Linked DNA regions of Homo sapiens: all the other regions are linked to region 1. Evidence: promoter capture Hi-C in human tissues and cell types (Jung and others, 2019). All regions are on one chromosome and are shown on one strand. The core of a region is centred on a gene start or on the middle of the fragment in contact, and the rest is flanking DNA. Distances in the headings are between cores, read along the strand shown. Region 1 holds the start of PPP1R14D (protein phosphatase 1 regulatory inhibitor subunit 14D). Region 2 overlaps EXD1 (exonuclease 3'-5' domain containing 1). Region 3 has its middle 51 kb from the start of INO80. Region 4 has its middle 40 kb from the start of CCDC32.

Evidence for each region. Contacts are between HindIII fragments. The study calls those that stand out against the background at their distance.
Region 2: a fragment that was not itself captured here is called in contact with the fragment with the promoter of PPP1R14D in region 1 in 1 of the 25 tissues and cell types used here (IMR-90 fibroblasts).
Region 3: a fragment that was not itself captured here is called in contact with the fragment with the promoter of PPP1R14D in region 1 in 2 of the 25 tissues and cell types used here (bladder and dorsolateral prefrontal cortex).
Region 4: a contact is called between a fragment that was not itself captured here and the fragment with the promoter of PPP1R14D in region 1, in 1 of the 25 tissues and cell types used here (heart left ventricle).

What each region holds. Positions count from the first base shown.
Region 1 is chr15:40,827,449-40,829,962 of GRCh38, reverse strand. It overlaps PPP1R14D (protein phosphatase 1 regulatory inhibitor subunit 14D), which reads left to right and starts at 1,255. Exons shown (of 4, transcript NM_017726.8): 1 at 1,255-1,576. The coding sequence starts at 1,322. The HindIII fragment of the contact is 14,686 bases long and covers 1-2,514 here.
Region 2 is chr15:41,216,314-41,218,827 of GRCh38, reverse strand. It overlaps EXD1 (exonuclease 3'-5' domain containing 1), which reads left to right. Exons shown (of 12, transcript NM_001286441.2): 4 at 1,674-1,731; 5 at 2,033-2,160. Among named protein-coding and RNA genes, the nearest start is that of EXD1, 13 kb to the left of the region's middle. The HindIII fragment of the contact is 6,726 bases long and covers 1-2,514 here.
Region 3 is chr15:41,165,863-41,168,376 of GRCh38, reverse strand. No RefSeq gene overlaps it. Among named protein-coding and RNA genes, the nearest start is that of INO80, 51 kb to the right of the region's middle. The HindIII fragment of the contact is 6,382 bases long and covers 1-2,514 here.
Region 4 is chr15:40,523,426-40,525,939 of GRCh38, reverse strand. It overlaps a transcript of CCDC32 not described here. Among named protein-coding and RNA genes, the nearest start is that of CCDC32, 40 kb to the left of the region's middle. The HindIII fragment of the contact is 5,556 bases long and covers 1-2,514 here.

The sequences.
Region 1 (2,514 bases), core at 6-2,505:
ATCCACGCGCCTCGGCCTCCCAGAGTGCTGGGATTACAGGCGTGAGCCACCATGCCTGGCCCCATTTTAAAAAAATTACAGGCTGGGCACGGTGGCTCACTCCAGTAATCCCACCACTTTGGGAGGCCGAGGCGGGTGGATCATGAGGTCAGGCATTTGAGACCAGCCTGGGCAACATAGTGAAACCTCGTCTCTACTAAAAATACAAAAAATTATCCGGGCATGGTGGTGGGCGCCTGTAATCCCAGCTTCTTGGGAGGCTGAGGCAGGAGAATTGCTTGAACTTGGGAGGCGGATGTTGCAGTGAGCCAAGATCGCAGCATTGCCCCCCAGCCTGGGTGACAGTGCGAGACTCCATCTCAAAAAAAAAAAAAAAAAAATTACAGTGTTCTTCTGTCACTTTTTTTTTTTAAAGTTTAGAAATTTTCATTATAAAAGACTAAACAAAAATACCCTGCCTTAGAATGCAAGTATGTATGCCTGGAAGTATTAGTCCCTGACACCTGTGTATAAGTTAGGTTTGCAGGTTTCCTCTGTGTCAGCAAATACATGAATCGGGGGAGGGTCACGTGGTAATAAACATGGCTTCCTAAGCAGTTGCCTCAGGGGAGCGGGCATAGTAGACAAGTCTTGATAAATTTGCCTTTACAAGCAGGTAAACTGCCTTTATAGGCCAGGCTGATAGCAGTTTACATTCGGACACACCCAGACACTGGGGGCACTGGTCCTACGGGAGCCATCAATAACTGACCTCCAACTCTATCTACCAGCTGGGGCTCTGCCCCCAGTAGTGCTACGCTCTGAGTAAGAATCCCTGCCAGCCAGGGACCCTGCTTCTGCGGAATCTGACCACAGCTTCTCAGAGCCCAGAGTGGATCCAGCCCCAGGAAGGTGGGATACAGAGGGATCTCAGGTGAGAACGACTCAGGTCCCATTCCAGAGCTGGCCATAGAGCAGCGATTGGAGCCCTGTACCCTTCAGGACCCCAGGGCCCCTTCCTCCTCCCTGGGCATGGCAGCCTCTTGACCTTTGCTCATCTGCAGTTTATGCCACTTTGGGCCCTAGAAGCTGCAGAAAGGGAGGCTGGGGCATGGCTCTGGAGTGCCACTCACTGGCTGGCAGTGAGGAGCCAGGAGACTGGCATTCCCAGCACCAAAGTCCTATTGATCTTTGCCCTTGCCCCTCCCTGGGAGCCTTGGCCCTCCTCCTGCCTTCATTTCTTCTCTGCTGGCCTCTCCTGTTCTCTGTCTCCTCACTTCCCTCTGTGGCTCTGCTCAGAACTGGCGGTTTTTCCCAGCTCCTTGCCCAGACCAATACTTCCATGCTGTCTTCAAGCCCTGCTTCCTGCACATCTCCCAGCCCAGATGGGGAGAACCCATGTAAGAAGGTCCACTGGGCTTCTGGGAGGAGAAGGACATCATCCACAGACTCAGAGTCCAAGTCCCACCCGGACTCCTCCAAGATACCCAGGTCCCGGAGACCCAGCCGCCTGACAGTGAAGTATGACCGGGGCCAGCTCCAGCGCTGGCTGGAGATGGAGCAATGGGTGGATGCTCAAGTTCAGGAGCTCTTCCAGGTAGGTAGCACAGCGGATAGTGGGAGGAGATGGGGGCCTGGGGTCCACCCAGGGCACTGAGACCTTCACAGGAGCTGGAGGGCTGATGTGAGGTGCTTCCGTGAAGAGAAAGCTTTTGTAACTGATGAAAGAAAGAAGCATCGGTTTGAAGTCCAGAAGTCTGCCTCCCTCTAGGCTTGTCTGTGCCTCTAATGCTCTTTGTGATCTGGGGAAGGTCTTTTAACATCCCTAATCTATAATAGGGCTGTTAGTGCCTGTCATATCTCCTTTATAGGACTTTCTGAGGCTCAAATGAGACAATAGAAGGGAAAATGCTTGGTCACACTATGTTTCAAAATTTTATATCTTTATTTACTCCCATGTTCAATGCACATACATGTCCGGAGCTACATTTTCGTTTCTTTTCTTTTTCTTTGTTTCTTTCTTTCTTTCTTTCTTTTGTTTTTTGTTTGTTTGTTTGTTTTTGAGACAAAGTCTTGCCCTGTTGCACAGGCTGGAATGCAGTAGTGCAATCTCAGCTCACTGCTCTGCCTGCTGGGTTCAAGCCATCCTCCCACTTCAGCCTCCTGAGTAGCTGGGACTACAGGTGCGCACCACCACGCCTGGCAAATTTTTTTGTATTTTTTTTTGTAGAGACGGCTTTTCACCATGTTGCCCAGGCTGGTCTTGAACTCCTTGGCTCAAACAGTCTGCCTGCCTCGGCCTCTCAAAGTGCTGGGATTACAGGTGTGCACCACCATGCCCAGCCTAGAGCTACATTTTCCAATTCTGTAGCCATCAGCCATGTGTAGCTGTTTGACTTTAAATGAGTTATAATTAAATAAAATTATTCAGTTCCCCAGTCACATGGGCCACATTTCTTTTTTCTTTTGCCTTTTTTTGAGACAGTCTTACTCTGTAAACCAGCCTGGAGTGCAATGCCGTGATTTTGGCTCACT
Region 2 (2,514 bases), core at 7-2,506, 390 kb before region 1:
TACAAGTCTGGACAGCTACATATTTCTTTCTCATTGAGTATGCTGTCATGAACACTCTGTCCCTTGAATATTCTTTTATAATGGCAGGGATAGTAGTGGTAGTTGGAGTTCTTAATTGTGTTTTCACTATCAGCCTTTGAAGTGAAACAGAGCTCTGGATTGGAGAAAGCTAGGCTGTGAATGGGTTTGTAGAGAGAAGTGAAGGAATCACTGCTATCACCTCCCCAACTCAGGAGGCTGATGGCTGACCGGCTTTGTGATCTGTATGCACGGAATTCATTGCCTCCTAAATTCTTCTCCAGGGTTTGGCCTTCGTTCATACTTTTTTTTTTTTTTTTTTTGAGACGGATTCTTACTTTGTCGCTAAGGCTGGAGTGCAGTGGTATGATCTTGTCTCACTGCAACCTTTGCCTCTGGGTTTCAAGCAATTCTCCTGCATCATCCTCCCCAGGAGCTGGGATTACAGGTGTGTGCCACCACACCCAGCTAATTTTTTTGTATTTTTAGTAGAAACGGGGTTTCACCATGTTGTCTAGGTTGGTCTCAAACTCCTGACCTCAAATGATTCACCCCCCTCACCCTCCCAAAGTGCTGGGATTACAGGCGTGAGCCACTGCACCCAGCCCAATTGTTGTATTTTTTTAGTAGAGACACAGGGTTTCGCCATGTTGGCCAGGCTGGTCTCGAACTCCTGACCTCAGGTGATCTGCCTGCCTCAGCTTCCCAGAGTGCTGGGATTATAGGCTTTGCTCATAATTTTTAAGCTCAAAGGATAGTCATTTCTGTCTTTGTCCTGTGGCCCAATCAACCATGGAGGAGTTGTCCCCAAAAGTACCTTGGATAAGAATTGTCAAGATGAAGGATAATAATGGCTAATCAGCATTTTTCAGTCAATTTTACCTTTTCTCTGCTCCAGATTCAATACTTCTAGATAGTACAGAGAAAAGAGACTTTTGAAACATAGAGGCTTTTTGCTTGAAAAGTACCTAAACGAGGCCAGATGTGGTGGCTCACGCCTGTAATCCCAGCACTTAGGGAGGCTGAGGCGAGCGGATCAAGAGGTCAAGAGATTGAGACCAGCCTGGCCACAATGGTGAAACCCCGTCTCTACTAAAAATACAAAAGTTAGCTGTGTGTGGTGGCGCATGCCTGTAGTCCCAGGCATGGGACTTGGGAGGCTGAGGCAGGAGTATCACCTGAACCTGGGAGGCGGAGGTTACAGTGAGCTGAGGTCGCACCTCTGCACTCCAGCCTAGGCAACAGTGCGAGACTTCATCTCAAAAAAAAAAAAAAAAAAAGGAAAACCCTCAAACAGCACCCATGTGAAGGAAGGTGCATTAGGATTGGGATGGTGGGAAAGAAATCTCTAGAACTAACTTGAATGACCACAAAGGTACCCTAGAACAAAAAGGGTGAAGGGGATGTATAGAAATGTTCCTAATCCTTCTAAATAACCAAGAAGCTTTGTAGGGATAGAATACTGAGAGTCTTTGGTACTTTAGATGGTCTCTTCTGTTGTATTTATTGCTGGCCAGTAAAAGCCTCCGTGGACTAACATGTCATTTCCAATTATTGTTTGCAGTACATGGTTAAACTAGGGGTGTGTGGGTAGTGGAGTAGTTAATTGATTTCTGATTGGAAACTCTGTTGGAAGCCATTTGGTTATTTTACAGTGGAACTACTAGATGAAGTGGAACAAGGCTCAGTGAGAGCAAAAGCATCTTCTGTTAGGTAAGAAGGAATAATTTTCTTAATTATGATATTTTCCAAATGTGCACATTAGGGTAGAAAGCCTTAACTCTAATTCACCAGCTGCTTAATTCCTTGGCATAAGGAAATAGAAATGAGAAGAAATATATAGGTGTTTTCTTCCATTGTTAGATAGCGCCCTCAAGTCAATGTAAGCAGTGGATGAATGGGTCCTCTAGTTAATGAAGGACCACTGTCCTTAACGTTAATGTGTGGCAAAATCTGTTTTTGGTGTCAACAACAAAGAACAAGTTCACCCAAATATTGTTTCTTGTAAGGATAGTCTACATGCAGAAAGAACCTGGATGGAGAAAATGAAAGTTGAAGACCTAAATGTATGTGAGCCTGCTTCTCCTGCCCCTGAAGCACCAGCTACCTCTCTGCTGAATGACCTCAAGTACAGCCCATCAGGTGAATATAGGGGCTCTGAATTTTCTTTTTTTTTTTGAGATGGAGTTTCGCTCTTGTTGCCCAGGCTGCAGTGCAATGGCGTGATCTCGGCTCACTGCAACCTCCACCTCCTGGATTCAAGCAATTATCCTGCCTCTGCCTCCATAGTAGCTGTGATTACAGGCATGTGCCACCACGCCCAGCTAATTTTGTATTTTTAGTAGAGACGGGGTTTCTCCATGTTGATCAGGCTAGTCTCGAACTCCCGACCTCAGGTGATCCGCCCGCCTTGGCCTCCTAAAGTGTTGTGATTAAAGGCATGAGCCACTGTGCCCAGCCGAGGCTCTGAATTTTCTAGGCTCTCTCTCTCTTTTT
Region 3 (2,514 bases), core at 7-2,506, 340 kb before region 1:
AGAGATACACACAGAGACCAAGAAGGAGAAGACAAATAGGAAGAAAATCAGAATAGTATTATGTAAACCAGAAACCTCATTTGTAGTTTGATGAACTCTCATTGTAAGTTATATCAACCACAAATTATTTTTAACGGTTTTACTAAGATATAATTTTTTTTTTTTTTGAGACAGAGTTTCACTCTTGTTGCCTAGCCTGGAGTGCAATGGCTTGATCTCAGATCACTACAACCTCCGCCTTCTGGGTTCAAGCGATTCTCCTGCCTCCTCCCAAGTAGCTGGGATTACAGGCATGCACCACCCCGCCTGGCTAATTTTGTATTTTTAGTAGAGCCAGGGTTTCACCATCTTGGTCAGGTTGGTCTTGAACTCCCGACCTCAGGTGATCCACCTGCCTTGGCCTCCCGAAGTGCTGGGATTACAGGCGTGAGCCACCGCGCCCGACTGATATAATTTTTTTTTTTTTGAGACAGTGTTTCACTCTATCACCCAGGATAGAGTGCAGTGGCGAAATCTTAGCTCACTGCAACCTCCACCCTCTGGGGTTAAGTGATCCTCCCACTTCAGTAGCTGGGACCACAGGCGTGCACCACCATACCCAGCTATTTTTTTGTATTTTTAGTAGAGACAGAGTCTCGCCATGTTGCCCAGGCTGGTCTCGAACTCTTGGACCCAAGCGAACTGCCCACCTTGGCCTCTTTTTCTTTCAAGTCAAATGATTTTGTTAGACTATGTTTTGGTGTTGGTCATTCTGGATCACCATTTTCAGATACAGTGTGATTTTTAAAATATGCTGTATAGTTTTTTGTTTGTTTTTTAGAGATGGGGTTCTTATTATACTGCCAAGGCTAGACTCCAACTCCTGGCCTCAAGTGATCCTCCCAAAGTGCTGGGATTACAGGCATGAGACGCCCTGCCCGGCCATCTTACATAATATTCTTAATGCATTTTAGCTTTTTATGCACCAATATATTAGAGTGTTCATCTATTTATTTTTTATTTTTTTTATTTTGAGACACTCTCACTCTGTCACCCAGGCTGGAGTGCAGTGACATAATCACTGCTCACTGCAGTCTTGACTTCCTGGGCTCAAGCAATCTTCCCACCTGAGCCTCCCAAGTAGCTAGGACTAGAGGCATGTGCCACCATGCCCAGCTAGTTTTCAAAAAAAAATTTGGGGCTGGGCGCAGTGTCTCACACCTGTAATCCCAGCACTTTGGGAGGCCGAGGCAGGCGGATCACAAGGTCAGGAGTTCGAGACCAGCCTGGCCAGTATGGTGAAACTTCATCTCTACTAAAAATACAAAAATTAGCCAGGCACTGTAGCATGCGCCTGTAGTCCCAGCTACTCAGGAGGCTGAGGCAGAAGAATCGCTTGAACTCGGGAGGCGGAGGTTGCAGTGAGCCGAGATCACGCCATTCCATTGCAGCCTGGGTGATAGAGCAAGACTCCATCTCAAAAAAAAAAAAAAAAGGGGTTTCTTTGGGCCAGGCATGGTGACACATGCCTGTAATCCCAGCTACTGGGGAGGTGAGGCAGGAGAATCACTTGAACCCAGAGGTGGAGGTTGCAGTGAGCTGAGATCACGCCACTGCACTCCAGCCTGGGTGAAAGAATTAGACTTCGTCTCAAAAAAAAATTTTTTTGGCGGGGGCAGACAGGTTCCCACTATGTTGTCCAGGCGGTCTAGAACTCCTGGCTTCAATCAGTTTTCCTGCCTTGGCTCCCCAAAGTGCTGGCATTACAGGTGTGAGCCACCACATCAGGCTAGGCTCAATTAATTTTTTAACTTCACAGAGCTTCCTATTTTGTTGTTTTTGTGTAGTGTTAAAATCACAGTTATTTGCTTTCTGAGATTTCTTGGCTTTGTCTTCTTCCCTAGTACTTTTATCTCTCTTTCCTTTCTGTTTTCCCTACCCTGCTCAGTTTTTGTTCCATTTCTAGAAGTTTCTCCCCAGTGTGTGAACTTGTCCTGGAAGGGATCCATGGTTGGTTATTATACAGAGCTTATAGGGTCTAGACTGTTCAAGCCTGGGTATACCTTCAGACTGTGGGATCCTTTCATGCAATTGCTATTGGAGTGAAAAAACCCCTTTTGGTTTCAGCTGTTGTTCTCAAATTGGCGCTTAACACTCTCTAGTGAATACCAATTTTCTTCTTAGGTCTGTCAGATACCCCATTGCTTCCCTCTACTGTTTTTCCCACATGGTTGTCAGTATCTCTTGGGTTGTCCCCACCTCTTTGCAATTTCAGGTTTATGAGTTACTTCATCACCCAGTATGTTGTAAATATTGTTCATGGGTTTGGAGTTTTGTCCTCTAATTATTCTGTTTTTACATGGGGATTTGAGAAGATCTAGAAAGTATGCCACCGTTACCACCCTGCCATCTTCCCAGAATCTTGGTATATACTTTCCTTGCTTCTAAAAGGCCTAATACTATGGCTTCCATCTTGGGTGCACTCTTTCTGTCAGATCACTTGTTCTGGTTGCCATGTTGGGAGAATACTTTTGG
Region 4 (2,514 bases), core at 7-2,506, 300 kb after region 1:
AAGGACAAAGATATGTAATTATTGACACTATTTTATTTATACCTAAGGAGAGACACCAAAGTATGAGCATCCAAGGGCCAGGGCATTGGGTGGACCAGACATTATGGGTGGGTGGCTTCTAAGGCTTGGAGAACCCAGGCCAGAGGCCACCCAGTATTCCCTGAGCACCTGTGGCTGAATCCTGAATGTCCTGGGTCTCTGCACTCAAAGCTTAAGGGAGAAACAAGGGGTGTCAGGCAGGGTCAGCTCTGAGGAGCAGGCGAGGTCCCAGTGGCCTGCCAGGGTGAGGTCAAAGGAGCTGAGGTCTGGGTAAGAGGACACTTCAGGTCAGTTACAGTGGCCTGAGAAGGACTGGTAGGCCTCCCTGAGGTCTTGGAAATAAGTCTAAAAGAGTGTGGCTTTAGAATATTTAGAAGGACTTTTTCAGAATTTAGGAGACATAACATAGTTTGGGGAGACTTTAGAGGAAGAGTGCTCAGCCATACATGGTGGCTCATGCCTGTAATCCCACCACTTTGGGAGGCTGAGGCGGGCGGATTACCTAAGGTCAGGAGTTTGAGACTAGCCTGGCCAACATAGTGAAACCCTGTCTCTACTAAAAATACAAAAATTGGCCGGGCGCAGTGGCTCACGCCTGTAATCCCACCAATTTGGGAGTCGAAGGTAAGTGGATCACGAGGTCAGGAGTTCGAGACCAGCCCGGCCAAGATGGTAAAACCCCATCTCAACTAAAAATACAACAAAATTAGCCAAGCACAGTGGCAGGCGCCTGTAATCCGAGCTACTCTGGAGGCTGAGGCAGAATTGCTTGAACCCGGGTGGCAGAGGTTGCGGTGAGTTGAGATTGTGCCACTGCACTCCAGCCTGGGCGACAGAGTGAGACTCCATCTCAAAAAAAAAAAAGAACAGCTTGGCTGGGCATGGTGACTCATGCCTGTAATCCCAGCACTTTGGGAAGCTGAGTGAGGGGAATGCTTGAGCCCCAGGAGTTGGGAGACCAGCCTGGGCAACATAGCGAGACTCTGCCTCTACAAAAAATTAAAAAATTAGCTGGGCATAGTGGCATAGGCCTGTAATCATAGCTACACAGGAGGCTGAGGCAGGAGGATTGCTTGACCCCAGGAGGTCGAGGCTGTAGAAAACCTGAGCAACAGAACAAGACCCAGTCTCCAAAAAAAAAAAAAAAAAAAAAAAAAAAAAGAAAGAAAAAGAACAGCTTGATGAATTTTTCCAAAGGTATACACACATGTAACCACCACCCCAATGAAGACAGAGCCTTTCCATCATTCCAGAAAGTTCTCTCATGCCTCTTTGCAGCCAATTGCCCCAACCCCCATAAGCCCCAGGCAACCACTGATCTGCTGTCCCTATAGCTTAGTTTTGTCCATTCTAGAATTTTACATAAATCCAGTTATACAGTACATACTCTTTTGTGTCTGGCTTCTTTCACTCAACATAATATTTTTAAGATTATGCATGTTGTGGCTGGGCGCGGTGGCTCAGGCCTGTAATCCCAGCACTTTGGGGAGGCCGAGGTGGGCGGATCACGAGGTCAGGAGATCGAGATCATCCTGGCTAACACGGTGAAACCCCGTCTCTACTAAAAATACAAAAAATTAGCTGGGCGTGGTGGCGGGTGCCTATAGTCCCAGCTACTCGGGAGGCTGAGGCAGGAGAATGGCGTCAACCTGGGAGGCTGGAGCTTGCAGAGCCGAGATCGCGCCATCGCACTCCAGCCTGGGCGACAGAGCCAGACTCCCGTCTCAAAAAAAAAAAAAAAAAAAAAAAAAAAAGATTATGCATGTTGTGTGTATCAATAATTTGTTCTTCTTTTAAATTACTGACTTGTCTTTAATTGTTCTGGATATACCACAATTTACTTATCCATTCTCCCGTCAACTGATATTTGTGTCCAGTTTTTGGCTACTGTGAATAAAACAGCTATGAACATTCATGTACAGCTGTTCTGTGAATATACATTTTCTTTTATCTTGGGTAAATACCACAAAATGGAACTACTGTTATGTCTGTTAGTTTTATTTTTAAAAACTGCCAATATGTTTTCTAAAGTGGTTGTCCCATTTAACACTCCCACCAGCAATGAATGAGAGTTCTAATTGTTCCATGTGTTCATCAGGACTTGGTAGTATCAGTCTTTAATTTTAGCCATTCTGGTGGGTGTGTATTTCACTGTGGCTTTAATTTGCATTTCTCAGTTGGCTATTGATATTGAGCATATTTTCATTTGTTTATTGACCCTTTTTATATCCTATTTAATAAACTATCTTTTACCTATTTACTTTTATAATTCAAAAAATTTGTTCAACACAATTTTACTGAAGTAGTTGAGGTAATTATGGTTATTTCCTTTTTACAGGTAAGGAAAATAAATCCAGAGAGACTTATCCACCTTTTCCTTTTTTTTTTTTTTTTTTGAGATGGAGTTTCGCTCTTGTTGCCCAGGCTAGAGTGCAATGGCGGGATTTTGGCTCACCACAACCTCCGCCTCCCAGG